Linked DNA regions of Homo sapiens: region 1 is linked to region 2. The links are contacts of gene promoters, found by promoter capture Hi-C in human tissues and cell types (Jung and others, 2019). All regions are on one chromosome and are shown on one strand. Each heading gives the region's core, a stretch centred on a gene start or on the middle of the fragment in contact. The rest is flanking DNA. Distances are from core to core; before and after follow the strand shown.

Region 1 (5,260 bases), core at 1,059-3,558, 61 kb after region 2:
CCTCTAAATCTTAATTATATGTGGATTTATATTTTTGAATCTATTTTAAAGTATTTACTAGTTTTACAATTAAAAACAATTTCGTTTAAGCTGCAAACTAGGAAAATGTTTATATTAATGTCAGACATATAAAGTTTGAATAGCTTTGTTAAAAAAAAAAAGCTTTAACAAAGAATTAAAAAACAAATGCTCCTTCTTTTTTAAAAAAGCCAATATATATAAAGTCAGTTTACAGAGGAGAGAATACATATGACCCCATAAACTTATAAAAAATGTTCAAGTGCCTAATAAAGAGAACAAACTTTTAAATAAGATGCTATTTTCTATTAATCAAATTGACTGAGAGATTTTTTAAATGTTATTGAAGGAGCTGAACAACAAGGTCCTCTCATGTCTTGGGTGCTGGTCAGAGTGTAACTTGGTACTACATTCCTGGAGGGAGGGAGCCTGGATGTGTATGTGGCATAGGTATAGCTTTGACCTAACAATTCCACTTCTGGGAATTCATCCTAAGAAAGTGATTATGGAAATGGATAAGGATCTTTCTACAAGCATTTCAGTGTGTCTTTCAATTCTAAAAAAAGAGAAAACTAAATATGCAACAAGGATATGGATAGATAACCCATGATATATTCATAAAGCATCATATTATATAGCCTTTGAGAATAATGTGGGGGACTAGGCATGTTGGCTCATGCCTGTAATCCCAGCACTTTCGGAGGCTGAGGCAGGCAGATTGGTTCAGCCGAGGAGTTTGAGAGCAGCCTGGGCAACATGGCAAGACCTCATCTCTACTAAAAAAAAAAATTGTTTTTAATTTAAAAAGAATAATGTGGGAGAGAAATATTGAATAATATGAAAAGTGGTGTCGGGGGCAGTGGCTCACACCTGTAATCCCAGCACTTTGAGATGCCAAGGCAGGTGGATCGCCTGAGGTCAGGAGTTGGAGACCAGCCTGGCCAACATGGTGAGAACCCCCCTGCCTCTACTAAAAATACAAAAATTAGCCGGGTGTGGTGGCACATGCCTGTAATCCCAGCTACTCAAGAGGCTGAGGCACAAGAAGTGCTTGAACCCTGAGGCAGAGGTTGCAGTGAGCTGAGATCTCGCCACTGCGCTCCAGCCTGGGCGACAGAGCAAGACACTGTCTCAAAAAAAAAAAAAAAAAAAAAAAAAAAAAAAAAAAGACAGAGAAAGAAAAAAAAAAAGAAAAGTGGCTTATACTATATACTTAAGTAAGCAAATTGTAAAATGCTATGTACTTTTGTATACTACATGATTCCAATTTTATTTAAATATTTGATGTAGATGTATATATAAGTTCAAAAATACATGCATATATGTACATACATATCTATCAAAAGTACATACAAAATATTAAGTGATTATCTTTGATGGGCTTATAGGTGAGTTTATTTTTCATTAAATATTTTTACTTTTATAATCAGAAGTGTTATTCTAAAAAAAAAAGTGGCACAAAAATGAAATAAAAGTAGTATCCAGGCAACAAGGTCAACATCCAGAGAAAGGACAAAGATAAACACAGAAAATGATGTAATGAATGTGAGAGAGTTAGGATCCCGTGGAAGCCAGACCCGGGAGAAATGATGACTGCAGCCTGGTTGCAGTGGATTAAGAGCTGGTGAAATCACACGGATAAACAACCCAGTGGATGGCTATGAAGGAAAGTAAACACCTTTCTACTTTTTTTCTATAACTCACAGTAGAAAATATGCTTTACATTATCATCCAGTGTTTACATACATGTATAGATATGTTAAAAAACTGAAACAACAGTTTTAGGTATAAAACAGTACATACTGTTAACTAGAATAGTTACTACTAAGCATGATTTCATTCACTGCAGCAGGCATACTTGCCTGTTCCTAAATTCATTCTGGGTTGCGGGCATGAGGACAATCACAGTGGTTTGCTCTGTGATGCCTATTTCTTTCCAATGTTTTTAGTTTTGTTGCTTAAAAATTCTGGCTCACACAAATAAGTTGCTGTGAATGCTATTAATAACAACAGTGAACTCTGTTTAGCAATGGAAAGTCTTCTTTAATCTTAATCTAAAATGGCTATAAACTTATAATCATTCTTCAATGTATTAAAGTATTAGAGATTAGCTTTCTTCTTTGAGTATCAACTTTAATATGGATTCAGGATTTTGGAAAACAGATCTTTTATCAATTTTTTCCTCAATATTTCAAATTTCTCTTTTTGAAATTATTAAAGTTTATAACAGAGACGTAATATAACTAATATCATTTTTCTATTCAAAATGTCTTCATTAATTTTCTCTTTATGTGTTACAAAATTGTGCACACATAGTAACCACAGTGATTACTTAAAATGTATTGGTTAGTGTTGGATATATTAAACATCTTGAAATATATTGTTACTTTTTCCCTGTAGATCCAAATTCAGTTAGTTTAAAATGTCAAAAAAATTAGTCCTATATGCAGATTCTTCTGGTGAAATATCATCTTCAAAATGCCAAATGAGATTGCTTTTCAAATAGGAAAATATGAATCCTGTTCCTGAGTTCATATAATTTAATGAGTACTTTCCTCGTAACAATCAATAACTTCAGTACGATGCAACATGTACATGTTATTTGATGGAAAGGCTAAGTTGTTTTAACAAAGACCCAACAATACAGTGGTTTACAAAGCATAGACACTTACTTCTCTCTTCAATTAAACCCTGAGTCAGTGGTTGAGGTTGGTGCAGCAGGTCCCAGGAGATTAAGTGACCATATACCTTAAATGTTACTGTTTCCTCATCCCATAGGGGGTTGTTCTCATTTGTGTGTCTCAAAGATATGTACCAGGCACATTGTGTTCTAGCCCATAGGAAGAGGAAAAGAGAGTAGAGGAGTCCATGCCTCAGAGGCAGAAGTTACACAAATCTCATATATTGCATTGGTGAAGACAGAGTTGCAGAGATATACCTGAGTAATCACAGCTCTCTTCCTATGGCATAGGGAGGGGAATCATTAGCCACAGATCCAATTTCTGAACAAAACATATCAAAAATTGAAGGTTCCCTTAATAAAATTAAACAACTATCGTTACTTTTGTTTTCAAGTCCAAAAGATTTAGTGCAATTGTTAGGATGCAAAATCTTTGTAATGTATAAAACACAGATTTTAAATAATGTACAGAGTAGCTTCTAACAATATTTTAAATTATCTTTCCATGTCTCCTGGTCGTATTTACTTCTGAATCACTCACAATTCCGTTACAATTTTCCAGTTGAACTTATGTTTCTCAAGTAGTTTTGTGTTAGGTTAAATGGAAACAACACAATAAATCCTTTATAAAAATCATATTTTCATACATATTTGGCATAAACTAAAGTCTAAGTAATGTGAAATATTAGTGTTCTCATTAAGTGGAATTATACAACCTGTGTCTGCCTGTATGTGCCTAATAAGTATAAATTCTATTCTGTATATTCTTTAGAACTATAATATGACTTAGAAGTATAATTTTAAATTTCTCTGCTGATTTATCAAGAATCATATTCACTATAACCATGTATGCTGAGAACAACTTTTTTAGGAGCTGTTTAATTTTTTTCCTTTTGCTGCATACATGTGACTAATTATGATAGTAATGCTTTTTCATTAAAACCAATGTGAAATCATGTTGACAAATTTACATCTTTTTTTCTTTGAAAATATTTGAAGGCCTTATGAACAAATTTGGCTTGCTATATTTCAAGTGATTTTTTTGGAAGATCTTAAGCTTTTATTTACAAGAATGTCATTACAAATAATACATTTTCAGTGAGTTTTGAGTAATCGACAAGCTATACTTTATCATTATTAAAATGATTTGCACTTCTTTGGCTTATAGTTCAAATAATAGAATTTATTAATTTAAAAAGACATTTTTCTTAATGTTGTCACTATGTACATGTCCAAATCTGGTAGTTCTGCCAGAACATGCCTCTGTGTTTTTCACACGACTGTTTTTATTTCTTCTAATAATAAAATAAACTGTGTTAAGGATAGTTGGTATAACTTTGATTAAAATGTACAATTATCACAAGGTTGAAAAATGCCTGACAGTTATGCCTAATTCAAAAAGCACACTGAAATCTTCTAACTCATAGCCAAACCTTGGTGGAAAGTCTTCCTGCCTTTGCCAAGACTAGATAAAGTTCTTCTAAACCTCACTTTATAATTAGCTATAAATTACATTGACATAAAATGAAACTATAAAACATGAACTCTCCTGATACAATTATGATCAATTCCAAAAAATCAGCTGAGACACCAGTGAGCAGAAGAGTGACTGGCTGGCAGTTCCCAGCCAATGCATATATTCATTACCTCTCATTCTCCAGCTGTCACTCAACTCAGTTGTCTGCAGGATTTGTGGCAATGTGGACACCTCCTGCTAGGAATATACGTGTTGCATTCTGATATTGTAGGTTCCATACTAATTCATTTCTTAATATATTTTTATGAAACAGACTCATTAATTTCACAACCCACTCATGGGGAGAAGCATGAAATTTGGAAAACACCAGACCAGAGGAAAATTTGTGATTAAACAGCCTAGTGGTGGGGAGTATATTTATACAGTGAAAGAAAAAAAGACATAAAAGCAGGGTTGAAAAAAGGCAGGAGGATGCCAGCCTAATGGGGGAAACAAGTATGCTAAGAAGATGGGAAAGAGGGTACCTAGAGTATAGACAGAGTCATTGCCCAGTTAGGGGATGAAGGCCAATTTACGGATATGAGTGGGGCATGAAGATAGAAAGCTGATTTTTTATATTGTTTAGTTGTTGATGTAGAGACAGGAATTTGTGGGAGCTACACCTGGTGACTTCTGTTTTGCTTATGAAACAAGAAGACATATGCTGAATGTAAGAGGAGAAATGAACAGGTAGAGGACCCAAAATTCGAAAATAAGAAAGAGAGCTGACTAAGGATGTGTAGAAGGCTTCTATGAAGTGTGGAGGACCCAGGTAGTTCCCCATTTGTGAATGCTTGGGAAGCAGTCTCAATCCCACAAAATTTTCATATCTGATAATATCTACTGAATTTGCCATTGCTTCAGATCTTGACCACCTAGGTTCATGATGCTAAATCTGTACTTCCAGCTCAAATCTCTGTTATGCTTGTTTTACCTGATATTCAAATCGTCAATCTTTTCACTTACTCTAATGCTTGATTCACAGAATACAGTAGTAAAGAAACTTGTTTGCAATATAAAATTATACCCAAATATGCAGCAGTATA
Region 2 (5,020 bases), core at 1,198-3,697:
CATATTTATTTTAGAATATGAACTTGCTTTACTATTTCAAGTGAATTCTAGGAGATTCAGCTGTGTTTATATGGCAAGGCAATTTAGTTGGTCAAGATGAGATCTACTAATTCCAACCCTTATGGAGAACAAACTGGATTGGTCAGTTACGTGTTGATTACTGCTGGATGATAATATGTGATTAAGATGGGAAAAAGAAATTACTGTGGAAGGGCTGAGTCGATGTCCTTCTAGCAAGTATATTAGACATGAAGACCAGCAAGTGTATTAGAACTTGCACCCAAAGGTTGAGTGGAAAAGACTTATTTTTTTGTTCCATTGTACAAGTAGTTCATGTTTTAGAAATAGACTCTAGCCTAAAATTTCAGTAGAATGCAGGATGCATTTTCTCATAGAAGTAAAGATATAAATTACAGATAGTTGCTTAGGGCAGCCTACAGATTTCTCTTTCATCCAGAACATACAGGAAGTATTCTGTATTGGCAATAAATACAATGGAAATAATAGAAAAATAAAAATAAAAAATTCTTAATTATGCTAACATTAAAACTGTACTTAAAGGACTACATATATATAGATATATAGAGAGAACCATGTGGAAAATGCTTATGATTTAAAGTATAAAGCAAGAAATAGGTTGGCTGCAGTGGCTCACACCTATAATCCTAGCACTTCGGGAGGCCAAGGCAGATAGATTGTTTGAACACAGGAGTTCGAGACCAGCCTGGGAAACATGGCAAAACCTTGTCTCTACAAAAGAAATACAAAAATTGGTTGAGCATAGTGGCGCACCCAGTAGGCTGAGGTTGGAGGATCACCTGAGACCTGGAGGTCAAGGCTGCAGTGAGCTGTGATTGCGTGATTGCATCACTGAGCTCTAGCCTGGGTGACAGTGAAACCCTGCAGAAAAAAAGAAAGGAAAAGGAAAAGAAAAGAGAAGATAAAAGAAAAAAAATCCTATACACACAATGAATATAACTATAAACACATAAGTAGATATGATGAGAAATCAGTATACAAGAATCAGTCAACATGATGGGATTTACAATTAACTTTTTCTCTTTTGGAATGCCCATAATGTTAAACTACTAGCACTTCTTTAAATTCATCTTTTAAAATATTCTACACACACACACACACACACGCACATCTATGTCAAAATTTAAATATAAATATTGAGACCTGATAATATGAACTCAGTCTCTATCTCTTAAATTAGTCCCGTAAGACCATCACTCAACCAGAAACTCTGGCTGTGAGTCCTGCAGGCAACTTGGGCTTTCCCTCTCCTACCTACTCACTGCCCATGTCACTGCCAGTCACCAGCTGCTCCTTATTCTGCAAACCAGGTCAGTGCACTCAGCCACACCTTTCTGCATTCAGCCCAGGTGGCCCCTTCCTACTGCCACCTACCTGGATTAAGTCCTGGTACCTCTGGCTCAGCCTCTTCCAATAAGATATTTCACGATGCCAAAGACTTGGTTCTGCTGATTCCTGAATCATCCTGCAAACCCATCCTCCCCCTCCTCACCTTCCATGTTTAACACCCAGCTCTGTCTGGATCACTTGCCTGCTTACAGAGAGCAGGCCCTCTAGAGCCTCTTCAACCACCCTTTCAGGCTCATCGTCCACTATCCCTCACTAATCTCAGTTTCCATCCCCAGGACTTTTTTTCTCTACCAAGAATGCCCTCTCTCCCAACATAATTATCTGAATCCCACCTACCTTTCAAAGTCCAACTCAAATAGTATCCCCTCCTTAAAAGGATGTTCTGCCCTGCTAAACATGCTTCTTCCTCCTGAATGTGCCTCCTGAACTCTTCTCCTGATTAAACATACACAGCTACCTTGAATTGTGGTAATTGGCTGCCTCTTTATTGCTTTCCTACTGAATTATAAACCCTTGCCTTTGAATATTTTGTTTTTAATCCTATATAGTTTTATGCACTGTTGGCAACAAAAATATATTTCCTTAATAAATCAATAAAAAAAGGTCTAAAAAAGCAACAAATTTAAAAGTTCCACGACTTATTTTTTCAAGTTTAATCTGTAACAAGCAGATTTTGACTTAATCTCACAGCTGGGTTTTTAAGAAGTCAAATTTCATTGGTATGCCCCAGATAACACCCTCACTCCTTCCTTTTCTCTTTCCCTCTCAGACTCTCTGCAGAATGAGAGCCTCATCTCAAATTGTCTCTGCCCATACAAACACAGAACTTTTGATAGTTTTATTGTTTATACTTATAGACCTGACCAAGCAAGCTCCTCAAGATAGGGTTGTTAAAGGGCTACAGCCAACCTGATTCTCTACATCTGAAACAATAATTACAGAGCTCTTCTGGAATAATCAAATCATAAAACTCTACCTCGTAGGATGGAACAGAAACATTGGCTCAGCTAAAGAGTGGGTGTTTTCCTTAGATTGTGGAATCATGGCTGATGGTTAGGACCTTAAATATATCGAGGTGGCTAATTGATGTATAATAATTTACAAAATTATTCTTCTATGCTACAGAGCTACAATTCAATTTACAGTAGTAAATATGAGGGCCTTCTTAAGGAACCAGAAATATGAGGATATGCACAATATTATTCACATTTTACAGATCAGAAAATTGAGGCACAGATTAAGTAACTTCCCAAGGCTACCAGGCATTCTAGCTCCAGAAACTGTGCTCTTACCATTCTGCTACAAGGTATTTCGAAAAAAAGAAAAAGTAAAAAGAAGTCAAAAGGCAACAGAGTTCATTGATTATTCCATAGAACAGTCACACCATGCAATTCTCACACCCTTGCAGACACACTTGACCATGAAAGGTTCCTCAATGAAATGTTCCTCATTATCTTCAGAAGCCATATTATTCACATTGACTTTGCAGTTAACTCAGACCCTAGGTCTGGAATGCTGTCTTCTCTACTTATCCAAAACTATACATCCACAGATCATATAAACTCTCAGCCCTGCTGCAAAGCCTTTCCAGAAAAATAAAAATGGTTGAAAAGGCAATTCTGCTACCAATGACTGTTTAAGCCCAGCCAAGTAACTGAACCATTCCAACTTCAATTTACTTATGAAAAGAATTTGATGATGTAGGAGGTTATTTCAATTCTAAAATACAAACCCATGTTGATCTTTCTCAATCTTGAACTCATAGATTATTATCTATTATCTCAATTTAGTTTGTTATTTATCCTAGTGGGCCATTAAAAACTACCACATGTGTTTCTGTCTCTCCATTAGTCAATAACTAAACTAACGAGCAATTAGTAAGCCATGTGCCAGATGCTCCGCTAGGCACCAGAGGGATAAAAACAATACTTATAGTATACCACTAATTTTCGCTTAGTAACTAGTGAAATGTTCAAGTCATGCCTGAGTCAAGAGTTGAGGAGACATTACAATGTGTAATGGAAACCAAGGAAAGTGAAACTTTGGATAAGTGGGGACTAGTGTATTTATATATTTAATTGATTTCTGACTCTATCATTGGCCTCCAAACACAGATTGTGTTTTTCTTTGGTTTTGTTTTCTTCACTATGGGATCTTCTGTGCCCAGCACAGTGCCTGACACATAGAAAACAATCAAATATTTGCTGAATAAATGATTAAAAAATCAGAGAACTTTCCCATTCTGTTTGGATCTATAGAACATCCAGAGTAAGTGATGAGGGCCTCTGCATTTATATGCGCTTAAATTAAGATTATGTGAGAAAAGTTTAAAGACACTTAGTAGAGTGATTTTGAAATATAGTAAACACTTGGAAATGGTGGTGCTTTAAAAAGATATTAATAGATAATATGAAAATCTCCATCTCAAAAATAATGCATAAACTATTTAAAGGAAAATCACATCTCCAGGCTTTCAATGTTTGTTCATTACTTTTTCATATATTTTTACCATCTGCTGAAGGCAGTCATATCAAAGGGTAAAGAAAGATGGGAGGAAAACTCAGTAAGAATTATATTAGTCTGTTTGCAAAGTAGAAAAAGATTCTCATCACTCAACCTTATGAGCAGGAAGAGGGAAGGCTGTTTGAGAACCATTTACTTAGCAGAACCACATATTTTAGACACTTCCCTGCATTAACTGCACAAACAATATGTTTGCAAACTTGTTAGATCAACCTCCAACAACGACACATTCAGGAGTTAAATATTTTTCATCAAACATTGGATTTTTCCTTAACGCTAGAGATTGCTACAAATCTTCTGAAGGGTCTCAATGGCTTCAGGCTAAGAAGAGATTTCTCCCTGTTATAAGCAGCAAGACAAATTAGCCATTTCACTCTCAAACTTCACTAATGATCACATTCTTTCCAAAAGGAACTCTAGAAGACCAAATGCCCCGAGTTAAGAACATCAAAACTAACCATCTGAAGAAACTTCCCAAGTGTAAGACTCTGCCATTAAAACATTACCGAGAGGGGACTCAAACAGTCTTTCTTCCTTTGTCGTGTTTCTTGCTCCCAGACCAAGGCACTGACGACAGTACTGATACATAATTTAAAAGCACACTCCCTTCCACTTTGTAATACCAGAACTCTAATTGGACACCCTGAAGCTTAGGACTACCAGCCATACAAATAGTAAACTCTGTCCACGATTCACTCATCTGTGTATTTTCTATAGATGTTTACTAGGCGTTTGTTATATAAAAATACCCCGGCCAGGCACGGTGGCTCACGCCTGTAATCCCAGCACTTTGGGAGGTGGGTGGATCACCTGAGGTCGGGAGTTCGAGACCAGCCTGACCAGCATGGTGGAACCCCCATCTCTACTAAAAACACAAAAAATTAGCCGGGCGTGGTGGCACATGCCTGTAATCCCAGCTACTCAGGAGGCTGAGGCGGAGAATTGCTTGAACCCGGAAGGTGGAGGTTGCGGTGAGCTGAGATTGCACTATTGCACTCCAGCCTGGGCAACAGGAGTAAAACTCCCCCCCACCCAAAAAAAAAAACAACAACAACAAAAAACCAAAAAACCAAAAAACCAATGGTAAATTACACTCTTTCCCTTTCCC

The links. Contacts are between HindIII fragments. The study calls those that stand out against the background at their distance.
Region 1: a contact is called between a fragment that was not itself captured here and the fragment with the promoter of PBOV1 in region 2, in 1 of the 25 tissues and cell types used here (hippocampus).

The regions. Positions count from the first base shown.
Region 1 is chr6:138,154,745-138,160,004 of GRCh38, reverse strand. No RefSeq gene overlaps it. Among named protein-coding and RNA genes, the nearest start is that of ARFGEF3, 4.6 kb to the left of the region's middle. The HindIII fragment of the contact is 5,876 bases long and covers 1-5,246 here.
Region 2 is chr6:138,215,918-138,220,937 of GRCh38, reverse strand. It overlaps PBOV1 (prostate and breast cancer overexpressed 1), which reads left to right and starts at 2,447. Exons shown (of 1, transcript NM_021635.3): 1 at 2,447-4,952. The coding sequence starts at 2,543. The coding sequence ends at 2,950. The region is part of intron 4 of ARFGEF3 (ARFGEF family member 3); the gene reads right to left. The HindIII fragment of the contact is 10,102 bases long and covers 1-5,020 here.